3 separate regions of the Homo sapiens genome follow, and all the other regions are linked to region 1. The links are contacts of gene promoters, found by promoter capture Hi-C in blood cells and fetal thymus (Javierre and others, 2016). All regions are on one chromosome and are shown on one strand. The core of a region is centred on a gene start or on the middle of the fragment in contact, and the rest is flanking DNA. Distances in the headings are between cores, read along the strand shown. Region 1 holds the start of ZNF362 (zinc finger protein 362). Region 2 overlaps CSMD2 (CUB and Sushi multiple domains 2). Region 3 overlaps RNF19B (ring finger protein 19B).

Region 1 (4,475 bases), core at 1,261-3,760:
TAGAGAGTCCAAAACCTAGAAGAGTCCTTCCCACAGCACCAAAGTCCACCTGGGAAAAGGCCAGGCGAGGAGCCTGCAGGCCTGAATTTAAGCCTCCTCTGCCACTGTTCAACCTCTCTGAGTCTTGGTTTCCTTATAATGAGGTTCATAATCCCCATTAGGACAATTTAACCCTAACTGAGTTTCTGGGAGAACCTGATGTGATAATCACCACACCATACTGTGAAAACTGTGAAGTTCAATTCTCTCAGGAAAGATTATGATGGCGGGGGTAGGAGGGGGTGAAGGGATCGTGCTGTCCCATTCTAGTCCAGTTCTGTTCAAAACGGATCTTCCAGGGGTCCAGGCCCGTCATGGAGAACAGTGGAGGGAGCCCAGCAGTGGAAGCCTGAACACCCAGGTCCCGGTCTCAGTCTCCTTCTACCTGGTAGCGTGACTTCAGGCAAGTCACTTCCTCTCTCTGGACCTCAGTTCCTCCATCTAAAAACCACCTGGCTTGGTACCCTCTGGCCAAGACATGCCATGTTCCACAGCCCTGAACCCCTAACCCCAGCTTTCAACCCCCGACTCTGGCTTCTGGGAGCTCACTCTGTCTAGTGGAGCCAGGACACAAACCAGGAGTGAGACTAGAAGGGTCTCCCCTCCAAGAAATGCTGGGGTAGGGGACACATGAGAGGCTAGGCCCAACACTGCCCCAGTGCCTTGGACAGCACCAGTCACCCCAGACCTTGTGGGCCTGGCCTTCAGATCCCCCTCGGCAGCCTGCGGAGCCAGCAGGCCCTGACCTGTCCAGCAAGATACTTCAGGAACTTAACCGAAGTCCAAAGTGCTTCTACCTCCCGGGCGTAGGGCAGGAGTGGCAGAAAGGAATAAGAGCATACTACAGGGGTGAGGCTCACACCGAGGAGGTCTAGCAAACCAGACTACCTTTCCTGCCCCTTCCCTCAGACGGGACCCACTGGGCCGCAGGCCTGCACCCAACCAAAAGTTCATCATAGGGTGGGGTCGGGGAAGACATTACCACCAGCTGCCACCTCTGGGGGCAGGAGGACCACCAGGTTGGGGAGGGGGCTCTCCAACTGCAAAGGGCCAAGCTCACTTGCCTCAGGGTCCAAGGGTCACCCCAGGGCTTGGGCGAGATTCCAGCCTACACGGGGGGTCCTGGCCACCCATGAAGGAGACAGGCCCACTGCCACACACACAGCTCCCGAAGGTTCCACACTGCTCGAGGGCAGGGTGGTGGGACAGCAGGATTATTTCCTCATGCCAGGGGTCTTTGCTGGAAATCCTGGACCCATTCTGAGCCCCTCTTGCCGGCCCTCTCCCCCAGATCTGAGGATCTAGCTCCTTACAATGCCATGTTTATAGAGCCCCTTCCAAATAAATGTTTCCCAGTTCCCCCAAAACTCCCATCCTCAACCCTCCACATCCGCCCCCCCACCCCCATCCCGCGCAGCTCTGAGGAAACCGGCAGTTAACTTTTCCCAAAAATCCTGCAAAGGCAGCTGGCTGGGGGAGAAATGGGCCTCGAGATCCTTTCGCGGCATTTCACCGCCTTCCAAAAAAAAAAAAAAAGAAAGAAAGAAAGAAAGAGAAGCAAAGCAAAGCAAACTTTCGGAGTTAACTTTAAATTCCCAGCCCTCCCCCCTCAAATCGCCCGGCAGCTTCCCTTTTTTTTTTTCTTTAAAGTGCAATTGCATTGTGTCTCACCTCCCCGAAAGGCTCGCGGCTCTCGCCAAAGAAAAGGAAAAAAGCCAACCCTTCGGGTGCCCCCTCTGCTTCCAGCCGCCTCTCCCACATTCTCAGACAGTTTTATTAAAATTTTCAGACAAAAGAAAAACAAAAATGGCAGCCTGGCTTATTTTTAAAACAGGACAGGGACGCCATATTCTGCAGATCTGCAAAAAAAGGGAGAAATCCGGCACTGGCTGCTCCACCGGGCCGGCTGCAAAGTGCGCGAACCGCGCCGTTTGCAATCCGTTTATTTGCATTATGCCCCATGAATCATTGTTTACCGGAGAATTGCAGCAGGGTTTGAATAGCCCGGCTTAAGAAAACACACACACACGCGCGCGCACACACACACACGCACACACACTCGGAGACCAGCCCCAGACACGCCGCGGGAGACACTTCCTACCCCGCGCGCCCCGCTGCCGCCGCCGCCGCCGCCGCTCTGGGCCGGGCCCGAGGCGCAGGCGGCCCCGGGCCCTCGGAGCGCCCCGGCCCGCGCTGACAGCGCCCGCGCCCCGGCCCGGCCCCCGCCCGCAACTCGGCGCAACTTTCCCGCGGGCAGGCGCCCGCCGCCGCTGGGCCCGCTCCCCGCGCGCCCCGGGCCCGCACGGACCTGGCTGTGCTGGCGGCGCCTCCGGGACGCGGCCGCAGCCCCGCGCCCGGCGGCCCGAGCAGGGCCGGGCTGGGGCTCCGGCACAGGCTCCGGGCTCGGGCTCCGGCTCTGGCTCGCTGCGGAGCCGCGCGCAAACCTTCCGGGTCGCCTGCTGTTCACTTCTGGGTTCTGCAAGCGCCGAGGCGGCGGCGGCGGCGGCGGCGGGAGGCTGGGTCTGCAGCGCCGCGCGGCCCCCAGTGCGCTCGGCGAGCCCCCGCGCCAGGCGCCCGGCTCCGGGGGGGCCGCGTCGGGCCCCCGCCTCTCCGGCTGCGCAGCCCGTCCGGCCCCGGGGGCTCCCGCGAGTGGGCAGCGCCGGGCGCTGGCGACTGCGCGAGAGGGGAGGGGGCCGGGCGGGGGGCGGGGGCGGGCCGCGCGCTGGGGCCCCCACTCGGGCCCCGGGGCCTCGTCTCGCGCTCGCCGTCGCCGCCGCCGCCGCCGCCGCCACCGCCTGGCAAAGTTGCGCTGCGCCCCCCGCCCGCGCCGCGCCGGAGGCAGAGCCACAAAGGAACTCCTCGCCCCCCTCCGCCCGCCTGAGCCGCGCGGGGAGGGCACCGGCGCCCGGCCCTAGGACAGCCCCTTCCCCAGCGCGGGGGCTCCCGGGGCCCCGGCGGCCGTGGCCATTGTCCTGCCCAGGCCCGGCGGCCGCCTCGCCACCCCACTCCTGGGTGATGGCAGGCTGGGGACTTGGGCCTGGCGGGCCACGGCCCTGACCAGGCCGAGCCCGCGCGGTGCCAGGCTGCCCCTGGGGGTCTCCCTCGAAGACGGCCGCCTGGAGGGGACCCCCAGGATGGACCCTCACCCCTGATAACGACCTGCTCAAAATCCAGGCCGATTTTTTTTTTAAGACGAGGACATAGGGGTGGGGAGTAGAAGTTTGCACAGGCCCAGCCACCCCTCCCTAGCCCTAGGCCGGATCCCCGACGGATGGGGCGGCCCGAAGCTGGCAGTGGCTCCTCTCGCAGAGTCTATCAGAGGTGGCACCGGCTGTCCCCCGGCTCCAGACCTCAGAGCCATCTGTGTGACTCCTCCTCCCGCCTCACCCTCCCCAGCCAATCAGTCACCAAGTCCTCCTGATTCGGCCTCCCGAGCTGTGTCAGCTTCCAAACTTACACTTCTACCTGAGGAGGCAGCCGGTTCCAGGATCCCTTCACCGGCTTAGATTTCTATGGCATCCACCACCCCCCGACCGCTGGGCCAGGATGGATCAGGGCTGGCCCTGCCCTCAGGGAGCGCACAGTCCCCCGGGAAGGGCACAGAGATAAACAATCATCTGCCAGCGTTTGTCCTCCAGGAAGCATTTCCAAATTCAGTAAATATTCATAGAGGACCTAGTAAACATCAACCACTGTTTTTAATAGCTGGTTGGCTGGAGCACAGCTATTAAAAAACTGGATAATGCCCCTGCCCTCACGAAGATTCTAGTCCAGCACAGGATGGCAAACACTGTGAGCAACTCGAAGACAGGGCCCATAGGGACTGCTTGTTCTCAATCCCCAAGCACAGTGCCTGGCACAGAGCAGGGGCACAAGAAATCTGTGTGGCATGAATTAGTTGGAATGTTAAAGCATGGCGGGAGAGCACAGAGGAGGCCACTCTTTCCTGGAGAGGTGGAGAGGGCTTCAGAAATTGGCTCTGGGGTGAGCGAGGTGGGGAAGAAAGGAAGGCCTTCCAGTTTCCAGAAATGACGATAATCAGAGGACCAACCCATTGTTGAGAAATTCAATGAGATAATAAATTAATAAACGGGAGAGAAGAGACAAATTGTCTGTGCAGAAGAATTCCAAATAATTTATGTAGACAATCAGGGAGGGGGAGCATCACTCCCTACTCTTTAGGAGTAGGCTGCAGATAGTGACGTCCTCCCCAAGCGCACAATATGGAAAGGGAGAGGAAAGGAGTAACTTTACAGGGAGAGAGCTGATGACTGCTACTCAGACAAGTGATCAAGGCCAAGATCAACAGCCACAAATCATGTTGATATGTGCTTGATACTATGTGATGAAAATGACACTTTACCTTTGTGGTCTTCCTCCCAATAACCCATAACCCCAGCCTTGTGAGAAAAACAGACAGACTCCAAGAGTGGGCT
Region 2 (4,475 bases), core at 1,212-3,711, 350 kb before region 1:
CCCACTCATTCTGGGACATTCCCTGGAAAGAGCCCCATCTACACTCAGGTTCCCCTGTGTTGTAGACCATCCATCACCTGTGGATGTGGAGATTGTGCCCAACCTGTGCAGCTGTACATGGTCCTGAGTAAGCCCAACCTCGCCCTTGGATGCTTCCCTTATTGTGACTGACCGAAGCATTTGTTCTAATCCCTTTCCCAGATTCTTCCACTGAATTTTTAAAAATATTTTTAGATTTTTTTTCCAATACTAATTCATGTTTGTAAAAAAAAAAAAAAAAATCTAAACACTGTAGATAATTTTGTGAGCACATTGTGTTAGCTCAGGCTGCTGTAACAAAATACCATAAGCCAAGTGCCTTACAAACAGCAGAAATTTATTTCTCACAGTTCTGAGGGCTAGGAAGTCCAAGATCACAGTGCCAGCAGATTCCGTGTCTGGTGAAGACCCACTTTCTAGTTCATAGACAGTATCTTCTCACTGCGTCCTCACATGGTGGAAGGGGCAAAAGAGCTCTCTCAGGCCTCTTTTATAAGGGAACTAATCCCATTTAGGAGGGTGGGCCACCAAATGCCCTGCCTCCAAATACCCTCACATGAGGGATTAGGTTTCAACATAGGGATTTGATGGGACAGAAATATTCAGGCCCTAACACCCGTCACAGGAAGTCAAAATCCTCCCATAATCCCATCCTGTCACTACCCTATGCAGAGATACACACTTTCAACAATTCAATATGTATTCCCCGCTTTTCTCGGTATATATATTGCTGTAGCTATATTTTTAGCCAAAATTGGATCGTACTATAGTTTTCCAATTTTGTTTTTTAAAGTTAATTTTTAATTACACAAACAATTTACAAACATATTTATCTTTTAAAAAAAGAAAAATACAAGAAAGAAATTAAAACCTTACAAGTAAGGCCAAAGCTCTCTTTGTCTATAGCCTCCAAACCCAGGATTATTCTCCAGAAACGGCTACTATTGTTTAGTTGTGACCTTTCCAGGCCTGGATATATGTATGCTACATGTACCTGTGAAAAATATGTAACATTTTATAAAATTTTTTGACCACGTTTTCTATATAAATAGTACCATCCTATATGCAGCTTTCTGAGAGTTGACTTCTTTATTCTGGAAATAATATGGTGGGGATGGAGCTCCTCCCTTGCCAGAGAAGAATACTGAGGGGGTACTGGGCTTCTCATTTAGGGAAAGCCTTAAAGGGCATCCCACGAGGTGGGTGCAACTGAATCAGTTCTGCAGGAGACTTCAGGGTTCCGGGGTCCATCTCAGGGAAAGCTTTGGTAAGTGCGGCTGGGCTTGTCATCTAGAGGGAGCCTCAGGAGAAGCTGGGCCTTGCACCCAGACAGAGCCACTTCACTGGTGTTAGCACAGCTGCCACACCCAGGGAAGGTGTGTGCAGGCTCATCACAGAGGCCAGCCTTGCCCAAGGATGTCTGTGCCTATTATCTGGGAGGTGTGTACCTGTCAAACAGGTCATGACGCGTCGGATGGCCGTGATGTCACAGGAGGGACTTGGTCCCAAATATGTCCTCTCAGAGACAGATGCAACGCCTTCCCCCAAGGCTTTCCTGTGTCTTAGTTTGTTAGGGCTGCCATAAGAAAGTACCACAAACTGGGTGGCTTAAACAACGGAAACTTACTGTCCAATGGCTCTGGGGCTGGATGGTCAAGATCAAGGTGTCAGCAGAGTTGGTTCCTTCTGAGGCCCATGAGGGAGACTCTGTCCGGGCCCCTCCCCTGGCTTCTGGTAGTTCATGACAATCTTGGCATTCTCAGCTCTTAGAAGTATCACCCCGACCTCTGGCTTCATCTTCACATGGTGCTCTTCATGTGCCTCTGTCTCCAAATTCCCACCTTCTATAAAGACACCAGTCATATTGGATCAGAGCCCACCCTAGTGACCTCATTTTAATTTCCATAAGTTTGGTAAAGATCCTGTCTATTTCCCATAAGGTCATATTCACAAGGAGTGAAGTCTTCAGCATATGAATTTTGGGAGACATATTTCAGCCCCTTGCACCCCTCCCAGGCCCAAGTGCTCTCTCCCTGAGACCTTCCTTCTCGGATAAATATAAGGAATGGCAGTGCCACCATTGTGCCAGGGACAGCTGCCCTGGGCCCACCCCGTGCACTGTGCCTTCACCCTAGACAATGGGCACGGTCCTGCCACTGAATCCCTGTGATGGGACCAGCCACTCGCTGTGCTCCCCGTGTGATGAGCCCACTTGTCCTTGTAAAGGTTGTGCCTGTGTGACCGCCTCAGATTCTCCATTGACTCCCTCGACAGAAGAGGCCTAACTACCCCCACAGAGCCCTGGCCTTGGGCTCACTCGCCCCTGATTCCCCAGCCCCCATCTTTGGAAATGCTCCCACTATGGCCACCCTGCACAAGGGGCCCCGCTGTCCCCCTGAGGTTTCCTGGACGACAAGCCAACATTCGGGACTAGTGTCCCTCCCTGGGATGGGCCTGTCTCTCCCACTGAGGTTTGCAGCCTCCACAGGCCCAGTCCTCCTCTGATAACTTTCCCTGCGTAGGGAGGCCAGGGGGCAGCGAGTTGCCTTCAGACACCCAGCTCCTCCACCAGGAGTTGGCCCAACATGTGAGAGGCACAGCGACATCCAATGGGGCTTCCACCCTATAATGGGCCCCCTCCTCCCACAAGCATGTGACCTTCAGGACTTGCCTGGATGTTCCCCTTCAGTCCCAGGCACAGCCACTCCCTCAGCGTTCACCTGTCTGCCACAGTCCCAAGGACTCCTGTGGAGCCACACATGGTGCCGGGGCACCTGCTCCCCTCAGACTTGGGCTCCACCCCTATTAAGGCTTCTCGTTTGGGGCGATCCCAACCTCTTGGGCTAGGTTGCCTCTAGGGCCAGAGGCCTAAGTATTCCCACAGAGGCCTCATCATTTGTGATAGGCCCAAATAACTCTCCCTGACCATAAGCCCACACTCTCTGTTTACACCTTCCTCCGCCGTACGGAGCGGCACCTCGTAAGCAAGCTCTGACCACTCTCCCCAGGTTTTTCCTCTGGGGAAAAACCCAGCTTCAATGAACGAGCCATTTGTCCCCACTGAGGCTGTTTCTGTCAGACCCAGCTCTCTATGGCCCCTCGACTTTCCTTAGAAGTCCAACTCTTTACTCTTTCTCAAAATTCCTCCAACTGATACTCTGCACTTCCCATGCTAGGGTCTTCTTTTCTCTTCTTTAAGTAAAGATTCCCATCAAGTTCTTAGTAGCAGCATAAGCAACTCCTAGCCAGGCCTCCCGGTCCGACATGCTTAATGTGTTCCATGACAATTTCTCAGGAGGGTTCTGTTTATAAAGAACTTAGCAAAATGGCTAAGATGTACAATTGTCCCCAAATGCTAGGCATCATCATTATTAATGTTTTAAAATAATGGCATTTTGCTTGAAATTGTATCTACCTGATTATGGCACTTTGTTTGGAAGTGTGTTCCCACTGTCACCAGGTGTGTCCCTTTAGAACAAACCCACTTGCTTTCCTGAGGAGTCCTTCTTTGGGGAAGTTCATCCTTCCTCCTCTTAGGGTTTATTTCTGCCTTATATGGCCAACCTCTCCCTTTGAAGCTTCTTGCAGGGGAACAGGCTCTGAGGTTTCTCTCAGTGTTGAGGTACTCTCACTGAAGTTTCTGTCTTTTTGAAGAGCCTAGATCCTTCCACTGGAGATGATTCCTGTAGGAGAGGCCCAGCTGCTCTCATCAAGGCTGCTCCTGGCTTCCCACACACAGCCACTCCCTTCCTTCTCTCCCCGTCTCTGAGTCCACGTGGCTACCCTGAGCCTTTCTGTAAAGACCCAACCCATCCCATTGGGTTGCCTCCCTGGGCAAAAGGCCCCCTGCTTCCGCTGAGACTTTCGTTGCCAAACGGCCCAAACCCCCGTGCTGCAGGGCCAGGCCTGTCCTGGGGCTAAGCAGCCACCCCACCCATGTGGTTGCTCAGTTTTTGGCACACCCAATTACCTCAATGATTTCCCAGGGAAACCTGCCCAGTTCCTCCCCCTGAGACTTCCCTGTGAGGTACTGAATGGAAACATAACACAGCCACGTGAGTGCTCAGGAAATGTTATCTTCAAGATCCGCGTTATTGATGTTGTTATTACGTATGAGAAACACATGTACTTCTAAGAAGCATCTATCCAGTCCCAACTACTTCCACTGAGGATTCCCACTGTAGGAACGTTCTGTCTCCTCCCGCTGCCAATTTCCTGAGTGGAGTGGGCGCAATTACTGCCACGAAGGCTGTTCTGTGTCCTGTGGACCCAATTCATCAAAGGCCTTGCTCAGGAATCCCTCAGCAGCCTCTCCCCAATGGACTGGCCTCAGCTGCTTCCATGGAGGCATCTCCTGTGGAGTCAGGCCACCCACTCTCATGGAAACAGCTTCCCTGCCCTTTGGAGGGACTTGCTTTGTGACAGCCACACGTCCC
Region 3 (4,475 bases), core at 1,166-3,665, 300 kb after region 1:
TAGATCACCAGGAAACAGGTTTTTGTTTTTTCTGTAGCATCTTTAAGGCTTAACTCAAACTTTCCCTAAACTCCTTTAATAGTTACCATGCTGGCCTGCCTTTGGTTAGTGTCCTTATTTAACCATAAACCTTATGCTCTGAATAGATTGAGAGCTCATGTCTCTAGACTAGGATATCTATATTCCAACCATTTCTACAACTCTGTGTACAAAGTCTTTCAATTAGGCTCTAGAAGAGTGTGGTACATAGATGAATTTTGATGAAAAAGATAAGAAATATGAGCAGCATAGTTCTCAGAGGAAGAATAGAGATGAAAGAGATAAGCAAGAATAGTATAGACAGGTGATCATTCAATTCAACAGACAACTTTTTTTTGAGATGGAGTCTCGCTTTGTCGCCCAGGCTGGAGTGCAGTTGTGCCATCTCAGCTCACTGCAACCTCTGCCTCTCGGGTTCAAGCGATTCTTCTGCCTCAGCCTCCCAAGTATCTGGGATTACAGGCATGTGCCACAATGTCCAGCTAATGTTTGTATTTTTAGTAGAAACAGGGTTTCACCATGTTGGCCAGGCTGGGCTTGAATTCCTGACTTCAAGCGAGCCACCCGCCTCACCCTCCCAAAGTGCTGGGATTACAGGTGTGAGCCACCACACCTGGCTTCAACAGATACTTTCAGAATGATACACTGTTGAACCCTGGGTGAGTACTGGGTATTTCAAAAAGAACTTAGACATGGTTTTCTTGATAGGAAGTTTCACCTGGTAGAGGAGACAGATAATTGATACATAGATAGATAGAAAATTATTCAAATGTCATATGATAAATACTAAAGAAAATACGGGTGCTCTTAGATAGATGAAAGAACAATAGAATTTGCATGATGGTTTCAAGAAAGACTTCACAGAGGAGCAGGCATGGTGGTGTGCACCTGTGGTCCCAGCTGCTTAGGAGGCTGAGGTGGGAGGATTAGTTGAGCCCAGGAGTTCGAGACCAGCCTGGGTAATAGCAAGACCCCATACCTGGGAAATGACTAGAGATCAACCTGAAAACGTGGACTGGATTCAGGTTGATAGGCCTGTGTAAGCCATGGAAATAAGTTTTGGGTTGAAGCACTTTTTTTCTTTTTTCTTTTTCTTTGAAGGATTTTAAGCAAAAGAGTAACCTTCCAGAATGGAATTTGGATGGAGTGGGGAATAGGGAGAGCAGATAAGGAGGCTCTTGGAGTTGTCTAGCCTAGAGATGGGTCTTAAATAGGGCAGGAAAAATGAAGATGTTAAGGGTACAGTTCATTGTGACAAGTTGGCGCATGTCTACCACCCTGATGCCTACTAGGGGTCTATTTGTAAATGGGTAGCCTAGTTATGTTACATGACTTGGGGATGGAAAGTACAGACATAATATAGGAACACATTTCTTTAACCACTGAAGTCTATTGGAGCATAATCAAATTTATACTAATGGAAATCTCTTTCCAGGGCTGAAGCTAAGTAATGCTGTGGTCTAGCTTGTCACTTTATGAAGTTTCTGAAGATTTAGGAAATTAATAAAATGAGTAAAAGTTGTATGAACTTAAGCAGCAGGGGCTGGGGTGGGCGGTCTGTAGTCTTTTTCTTTTTTATTATTTTTTATTTTTTTGAGATAGGGTTTAACTCTGTAACTCTGTTGCCCGTGCTGGAGTGCAGTGGTGCAATTTCAGCTCACTAGAACCTCAACCTCCCAGGCTCAGGTGATCCTCCCACCTCAGCCTCCTAAGTAGCTGGGACTGCAGGCATGTGCCACCACACGCCACCGCGCCCCACCACACTCGGCTAATTTTTGTTGTTGTTGTTATTTGAAGAGAGAGTCTCACTCTGTCACCCAGGCTGGAGTGCAGTGGTGCAATCTCGGCTCACAGCAACCTCTGCCTCCTGGATTCAAGTGATTCTCCTGCCTCAGCCTCCCGAGTAGCTGGGAGTAGCTGGGACTACAAGTGCACGCCACCATGCCCAGCTAATTTTTTTGTATTTTTAGTAGAGAGGGGTTTTGTCAGGTTGGCCAGGCTGGTCTCGAACTCCTGACCTCAGGTGATCCACCCACCTCAGCCTCCCAAAGTGCTGGGATTACAGGCATGAGCCACCATGCCCGGCCTAATTTTTGTGTCTTTCGTAGAGATGGGATTTCACCATGTTGCCCTGGCTGGTCTTGAACTCTTGGGTTCAAGTGATCCTCCTGCCTTTGCCTGACAAAGTTCTGGGGTTATGGGCATGAGCCACTGCACCCAGCTGTGTCTGTATTCTTCACAGCATGTAATTTTCTACACCTTTCTTTTAGCTTCTGATTAGCAAGCCTGACTGATTGGTTAAGCTAAAAGAGCAGAGTAGGAGAGATGCACCAGCATGGGACGTGGAAGAGAAGGAACAAAGTGGACAGGGCAGATTGGGTTTCAAGGATGAGGTATTTTCTTTTCTTTTTTTTTTTTTTTTGAGACAGGGTTTAGCTCTGTCTCCCAGGCTGGAGTGCAGTGGCACGATCTTGGCTCACTGCAGCCTCCACCTCCCGGGCTGTAGCCGTCCTCCCACCTCAGCCTCCTGAGTAGCTGGGACTACAGGCATGCACTACAGGCATGCACCACCACGCCTAGCTAATTTTTGTATTTTTTTTTTTTGTAGAGATGGGGTTTTGCCATGTTGCCCAGACTGGTCTCGAACTCCTGAGCTCAAGCAATCCACCCACCTTGGCTTCCCAAAGTGCTGGGATTACAGGTGTGATCCACCATGCCCAGGCGAGGTTTTTTTTTTCCAACTATTCGGGAAGAAGATTACCGTATTCAGAACTTAGGGGTTTACCACTAAAGTGGGTTTATATGAAATTTTAGGATTAGGTTATAGTACCTGGCATATAATAAGCCAATAGATACATGGATACATTGAAAAGATTGCTTTAGAGCAGAGTGATGGCCTAGGAGAAGACCTAGAATGTCCTAGGGAAGGTCAAACAACCAAAACAAGAGAGGGTCTCTGTCATTCATGCAACACAGGTATTTTGAGCATGAACCAGTATACTAGACTGAGATTAAAAAGTGGATGATATGTCTCCTTAAGTCCAGTGTGGTTTGGAAGGCAAGCATATAAACAGTTAGTTACATTATAATGTAAGTGTTATAAAATAATTGTGCACACCCACGAAGTAGGCAACGAGCTGCCTAGAGAGGTTAAGTATATTTTACAGAGAAAATGACACCTGAGTTGGTTCTTAAATGGGTACTTGTCAGGGCAAGAAGTAAGGACAAGACATTTCTAGGTAGAAGGAATAGAGTATGTAAAAGCCAGAAAGTAGGACAGAGTGTACGATGTTTTTACGCCATATATCTTTGAGGACAAGGTCTCACATGCAGTTTTAGAACGTGTTTAGCTACGTTTGAATGTGACAAGTACCTATACCTCCATTTGGTGGAATAGAAGCTAAGGTTTGGAGATTGTTTTTTTTTTTTTTTGAGATGGAATTCCTCTTTTGTTGCCCAGGCTGGAGTGCAGTGGTGTGGTCTTGGCTCACTGCAACCTCCGCCTCCCAGTTTCAAGCAATTCTCCTGCCTCAGCCTCCCGAGTAGCTGGATTACAGGCATGCGCCACCATGCCTGGCTAATTTTTGTATTTTTAGTTGAGACGGGATTTCACCATGTTGGCCAGGCTGGTCTTGAACTCCTGACCTCAGGTGATCCACCTGCCTCGGCCTCCCAGAGTGCTGGGATTACAGGCGTGAGTGACTGCACCAGGCCGGTTTGGAGATTTTAATAGCTTCATGTCATGCAGCATGAGTCAGAGGCAAGAGCTCAGACCAGGTACCCAAAAACAGGAATGCCAAATCTCGTGCCCTGAGTAATTCTGTGTCGTAGTAATAGATTGCTGTGGATTCATGAGTAATTTGGGGTTATTTTACTTCCTTGGCACCAAATTACACACTCAAAATTGACATTGTTGATCCTATCCAATGTTCTTCTTTTTCAAGAAAAAAAAAAAAGTGGGCTGGGCACGGTGGCTCACACTTGTAATCCCAGCACTTTGGGAGGCTGAGGCAGGAGGATCACTTGAAGGCCAGGAGTTCGAGACCAGCCTGGCCAACATGGTGAAACCCCATCTCTACTAAAAATACAAAAAATGTAGCTGGGCATGGTGGCGGGCGCCTGTAAGCCCAGCTACTTGGGAGGCTGAGGCAGGAGAATCGCTTGAACCCAGGAGGCAGAGGTTGCAGTAAGCCGAGAGCACGCCATTGCACTCCAGCCTGGGCAACAAGAGTGAAACTCCGTCTCAAAAAAAAAAAAAAAAAAAAAAAAGAAGTGGGGGCTGGGGGAATGTTAATAAACATTTACTTCTGCCATGTGAGGTAGGAATGGATGATGAAGTGTTCAAGGCTCCCTACTGGATGTCCACTTAATTTGTATCTTTAGAAGTTGACTTAGTGCTTTTCTGAGGTCATCCAGTAACTTTCCCATTTAATGCA

The links. Contacts are between HindIII fragments. The CHiCAGO score rates a contact against its expected background, and 5 or more counts as called.
Region 2: a contact is called between a fragment that was not itself captured here and the fragment with the promoter of ZNF362 in region 1, in 2 of 17 cell types (M0 macrophages and M1 macrophages). The highest score is 7.1, in M0 macrophages.
Region 3: a contact is called between a fragment that was not itself captured here and the fragment with the promoter of ZNF362 in region 1, in 1 of 17 cell types (total CD8 T cells). The highest score is 5.6, in total CD8 T cells.

The regions. Positions count from the first base shown.
Region 1 is chr1:33,254,527-33,259,001 of GRCh38, reverse strand. ZNF362 (zinc finger protein 362) reads right to left here and starts at 2,510. Exons shown (of 9, transcript NM_152493.3): 1 at 2,348-2,510. RefSeq lists an enhancer at 1,760-2,054 and silencers at 2,520-2,579, 3,022-3,121. The HindIII fragment of the contact is 6,922 bases long and covers 1-4,475 here.
Region 2 is chr1:33,606,033-33,610,507 of GRCh38, reverse strand. All of the region lies in intron 41 of CSMD2 (CUB and Sushi multiple domains 2), which reads left to right. Among named protein-coding and RNA genes, the nearest start is that of ZSCAN20, 140 kb to the right of the region's middle. RefSeq lists enhancers at 2,045-2,545, 2,546-3,046, 4,324-4,475. The HindIII fragment of the contact is 2,316 bases long and covers 1,304-3,619 here.
Region 3 is chr1:32,953,735-32,958,209 of GRCh38, reverse strand. The region is part of intron 1 of RNF19B (ring finger protein 19B); the gene reads left to right. Among named protein-coding and RNA genes, the nearest start is that of RNF19B, 8.8 kb to the left of the region's middle. The HindIII fragment of the contact is 5,060 bases long and covers 1-4,475 here.